Regions from separate parts of the Homo sapiens genome. Here all the other regions are linked to region 3. The links are contacts of gene promoters, found by promoter capture Hi-C in human tissues and cell types (Jung and others, 2019). All regions are on one chromosome and are shown on one strand. The core of a region is centred on a gene start or on the middle of the fragment in contact, and the rest is flanking DNA. Distances in the headings are between cores, read along the strand shown. Region 1 overlaps PTPRR (protein tyrosine phosphatase receptor type R). Region 2 has its middle 87 kb from the start of PTPRR. Region 3 holds the start of PTPRR (protein tyrosine phosphatase receptor type R).

Region 1 (4,522 bases), core at 577-3,076, 100 kb before region 3:
CCAGATATGCAAAGATTTAGGAAAATAAAACCAATAATGCAGAGAAAATAATAAAAAAAATAGAAAACAGACCAGAAATGATATAGATGATAGAATTTGTAGATAAGGGCATTAAAACAGTAATTACAACTACGCTCCATACACTTAATAAGTAGAAGAAAGTCTGAACATTCTAAGGAGAGATAAGATATCAAAAAAAAAAAAAAACCCACGTGTCACTTCTAGAAAAAAAATTGCAATGTCTAGAATAAAAAATGCAGGGGACAGGATTAACAGCTGATTAGACACTGGAGAAGAAGGGATTGGTAAGCTTGAAGACACAGCAATAGAAACTTTCCAAAATGAAACAGAAAAAAGATTGAAAAAGAATATGAACAAAGCCTCAGTTAGTTGTGGGACAAGCTTAAGTGGCCTAATAAATTGGTGGGGGGGAGTTCTTAAGTATATTTTAAGACATAATGGATGAAAAATCTATAAATTTAATAAAAGTCTTATAACCACATATGCAAGAAGTTCAATGAACCTAATGTAGAAATGTAAAGAAAACTGTAATACAGCACCTGATATACCGAACGGTTTTAAAATGTCAGAAGTCAGACTGTCATAATTGAGTTTACCGTTAATATAAGGAGGGTGAGGAAAGTAAGGATGTATGAGACTACTTGGGGGGACAGATTTAGCATCATGAAAATGGAGACTTCAAAGAGAATATAAAACTTCTGGTAGCTTCTATGTGTTAAGCATTTAGGTTGTTACTTCTGACTGAAATTATATGTTTTGAAGTTGGAAAATGATGTAAGGTCTCATTCATTGATTAACTCACTAACATTCATTTAACACACATTTGAGCTCTTATTTCTACAAAAGCACATTAGGACACATAAAAATGAAGAGCACCAACACTGGCCTCAGACAGCTGATAATCTAGTTAACTTCCAAGTGCTATGGCCTAAACAATTTTACAAGTGTTTGACAGACACATATATAGCTTTTAGCTGTTTTTTCCCTATTTCCTTGTCACATATTGCGATGAACATGAAATTACAACTAATTTAAAAGAAACACTCTTTCCTGAGTTATCTACGTCTTCTTAATGTGTGAAATCATCCTTTAGGAGGACTGAGGGAGTGGCATTGTTTACGGTAAAAATAGTTTTCCATTTAGTCACCTCTTTAATTCATTATTCTTTACCTTTAGCACAAATGTTTCCTGAAGTGTCTTATCTAAAACTTTATGACAAGCAAAAAATGTAAGAGTCACACTGTGGTGCACAAATATTTATAAACAAATATGAAATAAATGAGTACACCCCAGGAAAATGATCCTTACCTAGGAGTATATGCAAATATGAAAATGAATGCACATTCCTCAAGAAAAATATGACCTTTAAACAGGTCTATGTACTATAGTAGTAGTCACCACCATAAAACAATAACCTGGAATAGATAATGAAACATAAAATAGTTCAGCCTTGAAGATAAGTCCTGGCCCAAGGAAAGCATGGTGCAAGAACCCCAAGGATTGTTCAAGATAATTCATTGAAGTGAAAAAAAACATTCAAAATTTATTTATATTTATTTTTATTTGGCTCCTTAAAATTTTATTTTTGGTAAGTTTTATAATAAACATGTAATACTAGTATACTAGTAATACTTTTATAAATAAACCAGCACATATGCATTAGAGATATAAAATTTTTTTTAAACATATGTGGTGTGTGACCAAAAACATCCAGAAACCACAGGTCTAGACAAGTTATCTTTAAGCATTATTAGAAACAGAATCTTTTTTTAATAGAAAATCTTATGTAAAATCTCAATAACAAGAGAAAAACAGTATTTATTTAAAATATTTTAAAATAGAAACTATGTTTTTCAACTTCTAAGTTACAATGTTTGATTTTAACAAAATCATCCAGAAATTGATGAAGATGATTCGATTTTAAGTGAATGATTATGGACAGCTGTAGTATTTTATCAGCCTCAGCTTCTAGGTTTATTTCTATGAATTCTGCAATATTTATAGAATGATCACAGTCTATTAACAGGTCATCTCATCCTGTTAATGTCTCATCCTGTCTCAGTGCTATATAGATCTCCAACACTACTAGTACTGCTAAATAGATGGGTGAACAAATGAATGAATACTATTATGTGTTATACTTTTTAATTCAATAAGGTAGCAGAAGACACTTTAAGGTCACTTTAAACTATTTTAAAAAAGTAACACCTATGTTAAAGTTTGATACATGGCAGCCCACAAACACTTTAATGTGTTTTAAAAGTTTTAAAAGTTACTTAAAGAGCTTAAAATATATGAAAAATTAAGTAAAAATCAAATATTTGCAGACTTTTTCCTTTTTGTTGCTACAAAAGATAGAATAGAGAAAGATGCCAATGGATAAGGTCTGTATATTAAGTAATAGTATTGTATCAACGTTATTTTCCTTATTTTAATAATTGTTTTATGGATATAAAAGAGAATGGTCTTGTTCTTAGGAACCATACACTGAACTACTTAGAGGTAAAGAGCCATAATATCTGTAACACATTCTCAAGTAGTTAATTTTCATCTATTTTTGAGTCAAAATTCACAACTTAAACCATGTTGAATGATCTGCTCAAGAGCTAACTATTAGGTGCCACTCTACTACTTTTATACACAGTCTTGTTGAACAGGCTGAGAAAAGATTGAGAGTGATTCCAAAGGAAATGCCGGTTCAAAATGATTGTTCTGAAGAACACCAGGCTGTTGTTCAGACAGTGCCACATCCTCTAAGAAAGGAGATGTGAATACTTCACGAGATATGTTTGTCAATAAGAGATACATTTGATACAGACCCACAAGCACATGCACATATAACTTAAGATGTCACTCAGTTTATTTGACCTAAACCATTTATAGCTTTAATAGCTTTCTGAAATTATCTTTTTAAAATTAGTTTATAACTTTATTGCCTTTCTACCACATACTAGAAAGTCAATTTGGTTGGCCAGGTGCAGCGGCTCACGCCTGTAATCCCAGCAGTTTGGGAGGCCGAGGAGGTCGGATCATGAGGTCAGGAGCTCGAAACCAGCCTGACCAACATGGTGAAACCCCATCTCTACTAAAAATACAAAAATTAGCCGGATGTGGTGGTGCCTGCCTGTAATCCTAGCTACTCAGGAGGCTGAGGCAGGAGAATCTCCTGAACCCAGGATTGAGGCAGTTCAAGCTCTTGAAATGCAGAGGTTGCAGTGAGCCAAGATCATGCCATTGCACTCCAGCCTGGGTGACAAAGTGAAACTCCGTCTCAAAAAAAAAAAAAAAAAAAGAAAATAAATTTGTGAGACAGGACATACACACACAGATATGTGCCTCTCTCTCTATCTATCATCTATCAACTATTTATTTATTGAGAAAGAGAAAGAAGAAGAGAGAGAAGGATAGGTAGCTGATAACATCAATGTAAAACATTAACAATGGGGAATCTAGATGAATATAAGCGTACTATGGGAATATGAGAGCATTATTCTCACACTTTTCAGAGAGCTTGAAATTATTTAGAATCTAATATTATTTGAAAATTATTTGAGATCATTGCAGAAGAAGATTGAACTTGAGAATCTTGAAAGGAGTTATGTAGAATGAGGCTAATATGATTGAAAATTATGAAGTTTCTTTATGTCTTACAGTGATTTAAGTCATGGTTGGCTCATAGTTGTCATGTTGCCTTAGAGGCCTGTTTCATTCTATCTTATAGAATACTTTACCAAAAATCTGTGTCAAATCACTTTAAAGGTAACAGATATTCAATCAATTTTAAGATATTTATATTAAAGATATTTTCAGAAAAAAATAAAAGAAATAAATAATGATTTAAAAACTCACTTCACAGGTATCTATTCCAAAAAAAAATCATGGTAAGCCAAAGATCAATTTTAGATTTTTTGTCTTTTCTCTACTTTTGAATAAAAGTGAACAGCCTTATCCAAACTTGTAATTTGATTAAATTCTACAAACATGTACACAAATGAAGAAGCATGAACCCTGTCTACAAGGAGGTCACAATCTTCCACAGAAGAGGAGGAGTAAAATAGGGTAAAAAATAAAGAGAAGGTCAGGTGTGGTGGCTCACACCTGTAATCCCGGCATTTTGGGAGGCCAAGGCAGGCAGATCACTTGAGATCGGGAGTTTGAGACCAGACTAGTCGACATGGTGAAACCCCATCTCTACTAAAAATACAAAAATTAGCCAGGTGTGGTGGCGCATGCCTGTAGTCCCAGCTACTCCGGAGGCTGAGGCATGAGGAGGTGCAGGTTGCACTGAGCTGAGATTGCACCACTGCGCTCCAGCCTGGGTGACAGAGTGAGACTCTGTCTCAAAACAAACAAACAAACAAGAAAGAATAAAGAGCAAAAATAGACATTGGCTCATAGAGGTATGGTCAAATTGTGCATTTATGGGCTTCATATGTTTTGCAAAGTATTTATGGTCAGGGTTAGAAATGGAGTCAAAATTACAAATCAATGAGCTGTAATT
Region 2 (4,509 bases), core at 1,950-4,449, 88 kb after region 3:
CCACTGTTTTGTTCTTTATCTATGTATATTTTTAGATTCCACACATAAATGAGATAATGCAATTATTTTTCTATGTCTGGCTTATTTCACTTAGCATAATGTTCTCCAGGCTCATCTATATTGTAGCAAATGGTAATATCTCATTCTTGTTTATGGCTGAATAACATCCATTGTACATATGTACCATAGTATTTTTATCCATTCATCCATCGATGAATACTTATATTGTTTCCATATTTTGGCTATTGTGAATAATACTACAATAAACATGGAAGTACAGATATCTTAACAAGGTGGTGATTTCAGTTCCTTTGGATATATGACCAGAGGAAGAATTGCTAGGTGATATGGTAGTTCTATTTTTAATTTCTTTGGAAACCTCCATACTGTTTTCCATAAGGGCTGTACCCTTATGGAAATTCTACAATTCCCACCAACAATGTACAAGAGTTCAATCTACATTCACACCAACAGTATACAAGAGTTCCCTTTTCTTTACATCCTCATCAACATTTGCTATCTTTTGACTTTTTGATAATGGCCATCTTAACAGGTGTGAGATGGTATTTCACAGTGTAGCACAGCTCAGCCAAGGCTCTGATTACCTTGGATTCGAGGCACTGCATCTGACTGGTCCCAGAAAGCACTGCCACATAGGTCAGCCAGAGCCTCTGAATCCCTGGGAGTGGGATGTCACACCATTTGCGGTGCTTCTAGAAGATGAAACTGCTCCAATGTACCAGAGACTTGGAGCCCTAGGAGGGCAGGGGCTGCCTCAGCTGTAGTGCTGGGGACAGAGACAGACACACAGGAAGAATGTTACATGACAAGGGAGGCACAAATTGAAATTAATGCTGCCACAATCCGGGAATACCAAGAATTGCCAGCAACCACAAGAAGTGAGGAGAGAGGTGTGGAACATGTTCTCCTTCTGAGCCCTTCAGATGAAACTAACCCTGCAGACACCCCTTTATTTTAGACTTCTAGCCTCCAGAGCAGTGAGAGAATAAATTAGGTTTTAAGCTACACAGTTTACAGTACATTTTTGAACAGCAGCTCTAGGAAACTAATACAATGACAAACAATATTCCCACTCTTTCTCCAATCCTGAAATAATTAATTGCACTCCATAAGGCTTTGTTTTTCCCTGCAATCTTAGAACAAAATATTATTGATGTCTATCGTATATACCAAGCACTCTGCTAGATGTTGAGAGTACAACAGAGACCAAGAGAGACAAAGTTGTAGATTTTTTTTTTTTTTTTTGAGATGGAGTCTTGCTCTGTTGCCCAGGCTGGAGTGCAGTGGTGCGATCTTGGCTCACTGCAAGCTCTGCCTCCCGGGTTCATGCCATTCTCCTGCCTCAGCCTCCTGAGTAGCTGGGACTACAGGCGCTCACCACCATGCCCAGCTTATTTTTTTGTTTTTTAGTAGAGATGCGGTTTCACTGTGTTAGCCAGGATGGTCTCAATCTCCTGACCTCGTGATCCACCCGCCTCGGCCTCCCAAAGTGCTGGGATTACAGGTGTGAGCCATTGCGCCCAGCCAAAGATGTGATTTTATAAAATCTACTGGGAAGACAGATTAAAAAAAAAAAAAAAAAAAAAAAAAAAAAAAAAAAAAAACAAGGAAACAAACAAATACAAGGACACATAATAATGAAGATTAAAAGCAAAGTAGAAATGGAATTTAAAGTGTAGAACTTGTGGTCATCAACACCTTTCTAAGGAGGTGACACGTAAACCACTGGAGAGCTTCCCTTCAGGGAAAACAGCAGGCACCAGGTTTCTGAGTGAGGAAGTGCTTAGTTCCTTGTGAGAAATGACAGAAGCCCAGACTGAGTTGGTTAATTTTATTAAATGAGGATGGAGAGATAAGCAATGGCCAGGACCTACAGGGCTTTCTTATTGTTTTTTAATCACTTTAGTTCCTATGAATTGGAATGGGACGATGGTGTCTGGAGGGGAAGTATGAGAAGCAGATAAAAGTTTGTGGCAATAGTTCAGGAGAGATAACAGTTTCTTGGATGAGGGTGATGGCAGTAGCAATGGATAAATGTGGATAGATTTTTAGATATACATTGGAGTAGAATCAGCGGGAGTTGCTGATAGACTGGCAAATACCATTATAACAGCACTAATGCCTTATACTTAATTCAATTGCTTATATTTCTATCTACCCTATTAGACTGTATAGTTTTGACAGCAGGGATTATCAGAATCATCTTTTTAATTTCTACCACTTAGCATAAAGCTCAGTAATCAGTTGTTGAAATACATATGTCTACACACACATACATATGTTTGTATATATGTATATATCTTACTTTGCATCATACAGTTTATAAGATCCAGGTAAGCCAGATGCATAATCATAAAACTGAGAAGAGATGATCCAGTTAACTCTGGGTTGACTGTAGCCATATGCTGAAATAAATGTGTTCAGTTTCTAAATGAATAACTCTTACATTCACAAGCAATAGATAATCACCTGAAATGAGACAATTTTATTTTTGGGGAAGGGAGGGAGATCAAATGTGTCTGATATTAGAAACATTAGTCATTGCTCAAGTACTTTTCATTTCCCACAAGTGATGGTTTGTATTACGTAGACTTTAATTCAGCCTCTCTTTGGGTGGTCCCTTTTTAAAGGGGCTCCTTATGGTTTGTTCATCCTGTTGATACTCTCTTCTCATCAAAGCAGAGTAAGTGTTGCAGGGTTGATGTTAATAGAATCTGCAGTGAGATCTTAGCTGGAGAACACAAAACCACATTAACTGATATTTCCTCTTACATAGTGTGTAGATGATCTCTAATGATCAGGAGTGTTTAAGACCATGATGCTCTTGCATACATTCTACATGTGACCTTAGAATAGTCTCTAGGTTTTTGTTGTGATTCCTCATAAGCCAGAAAGATGGCAAAGCCTTAAAATGTGGGATAATGAATCACTGAGTACAGAAGTGAACTGTTTAGAGGTCTCCTCCTGGGTTTAATTATTTCATTTAAGGAAGAAGTCACAGCGTCAGCTCACAGTCCAGATCTAGTCTGCTGTTTGTTTCTAAAAAATACTTGAACAACAATGGAATATTTAAAAATATAAGAGATCATCTAAAAAATCCTGGATCTTGTGTTTCTTTTGAAATTAAAGAATGGAATCTCTAACAATGTTGGGCCTGTGTGGATTCTGCTTGGGAGCTGAGAAAAGTCTCCTTTTGTAAGAGTGTGCTGCCTGTTTACTACAGCACCCCCAGGCCCACTTTACTCATTTCCATCTTTTGCTTGGTACTTGTGTGCTTTTGTGTTTGCAACCCCTGGGCTAGGGTCACTGTAACCATTAGGAGCTACTGAGGCTTGGAAAATACTCTAGGGCACCCCAGGATTGTGGGTGAAAGACAGCGGGCCCCGCACACAGCCTGAGCCAGAACACAGGGCATCAAGGTTTTCAACTTCCCCAAAAGCATGCTTCTCATTTTTCTCAGTTGTTTCAAGTTGGGAAGCTGTGTGTACCTCTCTCTAGAGATGCCACATAAGAAGCTAAGTTGTGTGCAGTTCAGTTTACACTGCAACTGAAACTTGGCTTCTAGCTTCTTGTTGACAATGTGCTCATATAGGCAAAAAGCTTTCCTTAATACATTTTGTAATACAATTCAGAAACATTAAAAAATAAGTGTTTATCCACTTTTTATAGATCCTGGAGTCTGTATGTTTTCTGAATAGGTAAAATAGTCTCGTGTGAAGACAAGAATTTTGATGAGAAAATTTTCCAAGGGAATCCCTCTACTTAAAATTTTCAGGGCCTTCCCTGACCAGATATCTAAATAAATTCAACACTGAGTAATTTGAGAAAATGTATTCTAGGGTCAATATAGAAGAAGATTTTATTATAAAAGATTAGCACCCTTTGATTTAATTGAAACCTCCTAAGGAATTCAAAGTGCTTTATGGATTACATCTCATTTCCATACCATCCAACAAACTAAATGATCTCTAGTTTAAATGATTCTCAGAGTGAAAGTTAAGAATTGTCATCACAGCTATGTAAAGGCTTTACTTTTATAAGGCTAAAATTATGTAAATAATGATTTAAGTAACATTTTAAATTAGAGGATATTTTTTCTGGGGGATGGCAGATGCCCATTTCTCACCTTCCCCATCTTTTCTCATGCTTTCCCAGTGTGGAAAATAAAGCAGACAGATAGACTGACAGATACACAGACCGTCAGGCGGAGAGAAAGTGACCGTGAACAATAAATGATTAGATAGATAGGTAGGTAGGTAGAGAACAAAACGAGGAAAAAGAGGAACAGAGGGGGAGTTGCGGGGGAGAGATGTTATCAGAGGAAACAGATAAGACTAATGTTTTCTCTAGACCTTCCAAAACGCAGTCAAGAAGAAACAAGAAATGCAAGCCAACAAGCTCCTTTCTTCCTATGTCCTGGTATCATAGCAGGTTTTGAATACTAGTTTTCTGGGTTGTCAAGTTTCAATTCCACTCTCTTAATAAGGC
Region 3 (4,343 bases), core at 1,176-3,675:
ACCAATGTATTTTACTATATTAAATATGAATACAATGAATAGTATCTTGCAATTGAAATATAAAAATGTCCTTAAATGCATTTTCTTATTAAATTAAAATTGGTTGATTAATCTTACTTTTTATCTTTGTTTTGCAAATTAAAAAGTTGAAGTAGAGATGGATTGGATTGGCTTTGGTAATATACCCTTTGGCAGAACTCCAGGTAAAATCTAGGGCTACAGGCTTCTAGGTTTCTCATCTGATGAGCAAAAGTCCTCATTTTTCTCATCCCGAATATTCATCTACAGTAAATCAAGACATGTTTTTCACATGCTTCAGTTTATTTATAACTTTTAAGATATAATTACTCAAGATGTATCAAATGTGATCTTTAAACTTTTTTATATGTTAGTTTTGAAAAAATGACTACACTGATATTGTTGGCAGACCAGCTAAATCATTGCTACCTTAGTAAGAATTGAGATTTTTCTGTAATGAATGTTTGTGTCAGTCTATTATTAAGCAATACTATAAATAAAACTCAACCCAATGTGTATGTTTTCATCCCACATTTCAGCATTGAAGAATTGTATGTGGTAACGAAATAATTCACTACAGCTGTTTGCAAATAATTTAATAATCAAGTCATAGCTATTTTCTACTTCTCAAAATGTGCCAAAGAACTATTGAAAACTCCACAATATAACATCATAATTATAACAATTAACATGTGTATTTAATAATAGCTTTAATAATCCTATGCATTATTTGCTCAAAAGATTCATGATACATTTAAATAATAGCGTTAGCTGGAATAAGAAAGTACCATATTTCACTCCTACTATTGTACACAGAGAATAAAATTCACCCACTCTTTTAAAAAAGATACTGCAAGGATTGTAATTTCAGAACAATTATTTTTACTCATTACCCCTAGAACATAGTATACACTCAGCAAATGTTGCTTGAAGGAATGAATGGATATGTGTGATTGGATGAGAAGCACACTCAGGGAAAATGCCTCGTCTCTGGTTGTTACAGGACTACTGCATGGACAACTGCTGTCACAGTAGGGTTTCTAAAATCTCCCTGCCATATTTTATTTTGGTTCATGTGTGTGTGACAATGATAAGGAATTCAGCCTAGCAAGTCTGTCTGCATTAAATAGAGGTGCTATGTATGCAAAAAGCAGGGACACCACATATAATATCTCTCAGGTACTTCCCAAGGTTTGCTTCCTCACGAGACTTGATATTGATTCTGGTGCCTCAAATCTATTTATATTTGGGAGCAGTCTCACTGTTACTCTTGGTTACACCTTATCAAATCTGTCCGAGGGACAGTGCCTAACCCAGGGTTGTCAGCTTTGGAACTGTAATTGTTTTTTTTTTTTTTTTTTTTTTTTTTTTTTTTAATATGCCAGCGGACGCTAGCCACGGTGCTGAAAGAGACAAGAGGATTCTATTTGAAACCTTTTCTTCCTCTTATTGGCTTAGAAAATTCGAGTGACAAGAGCAGGGGCCAAAGGAGCCTGGTGCAGCATCACTAATGTGAACCATGTATTTCGATCTTTTGGGCGGAGATGTGGTCCATCAGGTTACAGCCAATGCCTTCCTATGAGCGCTCGCTAGACCAAGAGACCTTATGAATGTAGTAGCCGCTGCAGTAGAAAAGGTTACATCTAGCAGGATGTCTTATCCCTCTCCTGAAAAATTGACAGTTAAGTGCATAGCCTAGAAACAAGAGCAGGGAATCTAGACGGAGGGGAGGCGAAGGGGGGAGCAAACCTGTATTCATATTGAAAATGTTCACTATTTTCGTATAAAGTAAAGAAAAATCAAGAGCTAATTTTAGGTTAAGTTTTCGGCCTCAGTTTTCCAACAGGTGCACGACTCCCTCACCCCTTCCCTGTCAGGTACTGTCCTGTTTTACCTTTTTAGAAAGGCTTTCTTCGCAAGGCAAGCTTTTCCTAGAGTCCTTAAGCATGTGCAGTTTCCCATCTCATGCACAGCTCCGGCTCTAAGCCTGGCAACCCCTTACCTGCAGCGTGAAGATTAAGGAGCAGGCACAGCGCAGGGAAGCAGACTGCTCTCCGCATAGTGTTTGCATTGAGAGGTGGAGGAGAAACTCCACCACGACCCCACTTCAGGTAAAGTGCTATTAGAAAGAGCCACCGCCAAGGGTCTTCTAGTCTCCGGGATTCAGGTCCTCGGCTGGGGTTTGCAGAGCAGTCAGTCTGTGGCGCCGACAGAAACCAGCACCAGCTTCAACCTCCCTAAGAGAGGGAGAGAGGAAGAGCAGTAGGAGGTTGCGGGTAAGGGGAACAGAAGCGCTCAGAGGCGGCAAATGCCTGGCCTTCTGGACGCCCAGAAGCCAAGGCGGAGACGGCAGGGTGGACTCCGCGCCAGCCCAGCAGCCCAGCAGCAGCGCCGCGGCTACTGAGCATGCCCAGCGCCGGCCCTCACGAGGCAAGGGAATTTCAAAGTGAAATTCCGCTTCTCCGGGTCTTAGCGGCGGCTTGGAGCAGAGTAGGCTCCATCGCTGGGGTGGTGGTTGGGGGTGGGGGTGGGGGTGGGGAAGGGGGAAGTGCGGGGGAGACACTTGCTGTGGTTACTAGGGACCCAGCGTCCATCACAAATCCGAAGGTGGGGTGTAGCTGAGTGAGAGTAGATGGGGGCACGACCACAGGAGTCAGAGGAGGGAGCTGATGACATTGTCAACCATGCCACCCACCCTACTCTTTCCCCAAATCTTGATTTACACGTGGACCGAGCTCACTGCTGGGAATTGGCATTTGCAGATTGACCAGCTTCCCAGGACTCGCCTACAGGAATAGAGGTGTCTTCCACTGCTGAGCATTCTGGCTGCTCGGGGGAAGCGTTCCCAAGGCAGCTTGCTTGGTGTAAGCAGTAACCATGTATCTTGGGGGTGACTTCGTCCTTCCTACAGCTTCCCCCTCTTTGCTTCTCTTTCCACTCTTTCCAGCTCAATGACTGTATTTAAACTTTCTTCTGACTCAAGTCCTCACAGTGACAGAAAGAAGTGAGAAGATACTTTTAGACTAGTAGAATATATCCATGTAATTGAAGCACAAGAAGGCACCTTTTTGTTTCGTGGAGGTAATTAACTTTAGTTTCCCTTTTACTCTTTAAGGTGAAAGATAATGGATCACGTCAGTGCCTGGACTCATCCGGCCCAGCTCTGTGTCTCTAGGGAGGCTACCACAGTCTGCCATTAGATGGTTTTTTATCCCTCCATCTAAGTCTTTGGAGTGTGGAAAGCCTTATTAGTCATGGCTAATTGCTGCTAGTCAAGTCAAGAAGTCCCTCAGCTAGACTTCTCTTTTAACTATCCCAGGGCCTCTGCCCTTTCTGCCTCTGTGTCTTTATGGACACTGTTGCCTCTTTCCCATTTTCCTCCACTTGCACCACCACCACACTAGTTTTCGAAGGTGTAATGTTGGTCTCACTTTTCCAGAAAGCCCTAACTCTAACTAACTCTAGATTACAGTGATCTTTCTCTTCCACAACACTTGTTTAGCCGTGCCTCATATTATTCTTTCAGACAGTTCATTTATCTGTGGTTTGTTCTACAGCACATTGAAGTCTCCATAAGAACTGCTGAGTTTTGTATTCCATTAACTTGAATAAAGTTGTCCTAGCCAAATAATTGGGGCTAACAAGTGCCCATTGAGTTGAGCTGCACATCTCATTCAGTGCTTTCTTTCTCCATCCTCTGTGAATTGAGACAACTAATGGGAAATAGGCTATCCACCAGAGCTTAAATTAGGTGGGACCTTATAAGATCAGAGAGCCCAGGCGGTACCATTTATTTCTTTTATGATTTATGTCATCTTCAGCTCTGAGAGACAAGGCCAGGAAGCACTCCAACAAGTGGGAGAAGGGGACAATGAGATGTACTTTTAATATCTTGACAGGCCTTCTCTGCTGAAAATAGAGACATATCTCCATGTCTAGCCCCTCTCTAGCAACGTGCTCCACCCCCTACTCCCCCATGCGTGTGGCACACTCCATTTCTGTGGCACTATCATTTCATCCCAAACCACTCTAAGCTGCAACCTCTTCTCCTATTCCTGATTCACTGTCCTCCAGTTTGCTTTTCCCGTATCACTTTCTAACAAACCAAAATAATTACTTATAAAATCTATTGTTTAGTATCTATTTCCCTACTCCCCCCCGCAAAACAGAATTTGAGCTCCAATGTTGAAGAACTTTGATGACTTTATTGATATGTCCCAACTCCCTAGAGCAATGCCTCATGCAAAATAGATACTCAAAAATGAATAAATGAAAATGATAGTTGACAAAGTTCAATACTGACAATTAACTCTTTGAAATTCTTA

The links. The method cuts DNA at HindIII sites, captures the fragments that hold promoters and counts their contacts. A contact is called where the count stands out against the background at its distance.
Region 1: a fragment that was not itself captured here is called in contact with the fragment with the promoter of PTPRR in region 3 in 3 of the 25 tissues and cell types used here (adrenal gland, aorta and mesenchymal stem cells).
Region 2: a fragment that was not itself captured here is called in contact with the fragment with the promoter of PTPRR in region 3 in 2 of the 25 tissues and cell types used here (mesendoderm cells and spleen).

The regions. Positions count from the first base shown.
Region 1 is chr12:70,814,942-70,819,463 of GRCh38, forward strand. All of the region lies in intron 2 of PTPRR (protein tyrosine phosphatase receptor type R), which reads right to left. Among named protein-coding and RNA genes, the nearest start is that of PTPRR, 100 kb to the right of the region's middle. The HindIII fragment of the contact is 7,765 bases long and covers 1-4,522 here.
Region 2 is chr12:71,005,289-71,009,797 of GRCh38, forward strand. No RefSeq gene overlaps it. Among named protein-coding and RNA genes, the nearest start is that of PTPRR, 87 kb to the left of the region's middle. The HindIII fragment of the contact is 4,797 bases long and covers 802-4,509 here.
Region 3 is chr12:70,918,313-70,922,655 of GRCh38, forward strand. PTPRR (protein tyrosine phosphatase receptor type R) reads right to left here and starts at 2,426. Exons shown (of 14, transcript NM_002849.4): 1 at 2,021-2,426. The coding sequence starts at 2,078. The HindIII fragment of the contact is 3,890 bases long and covers 878-4,343 here.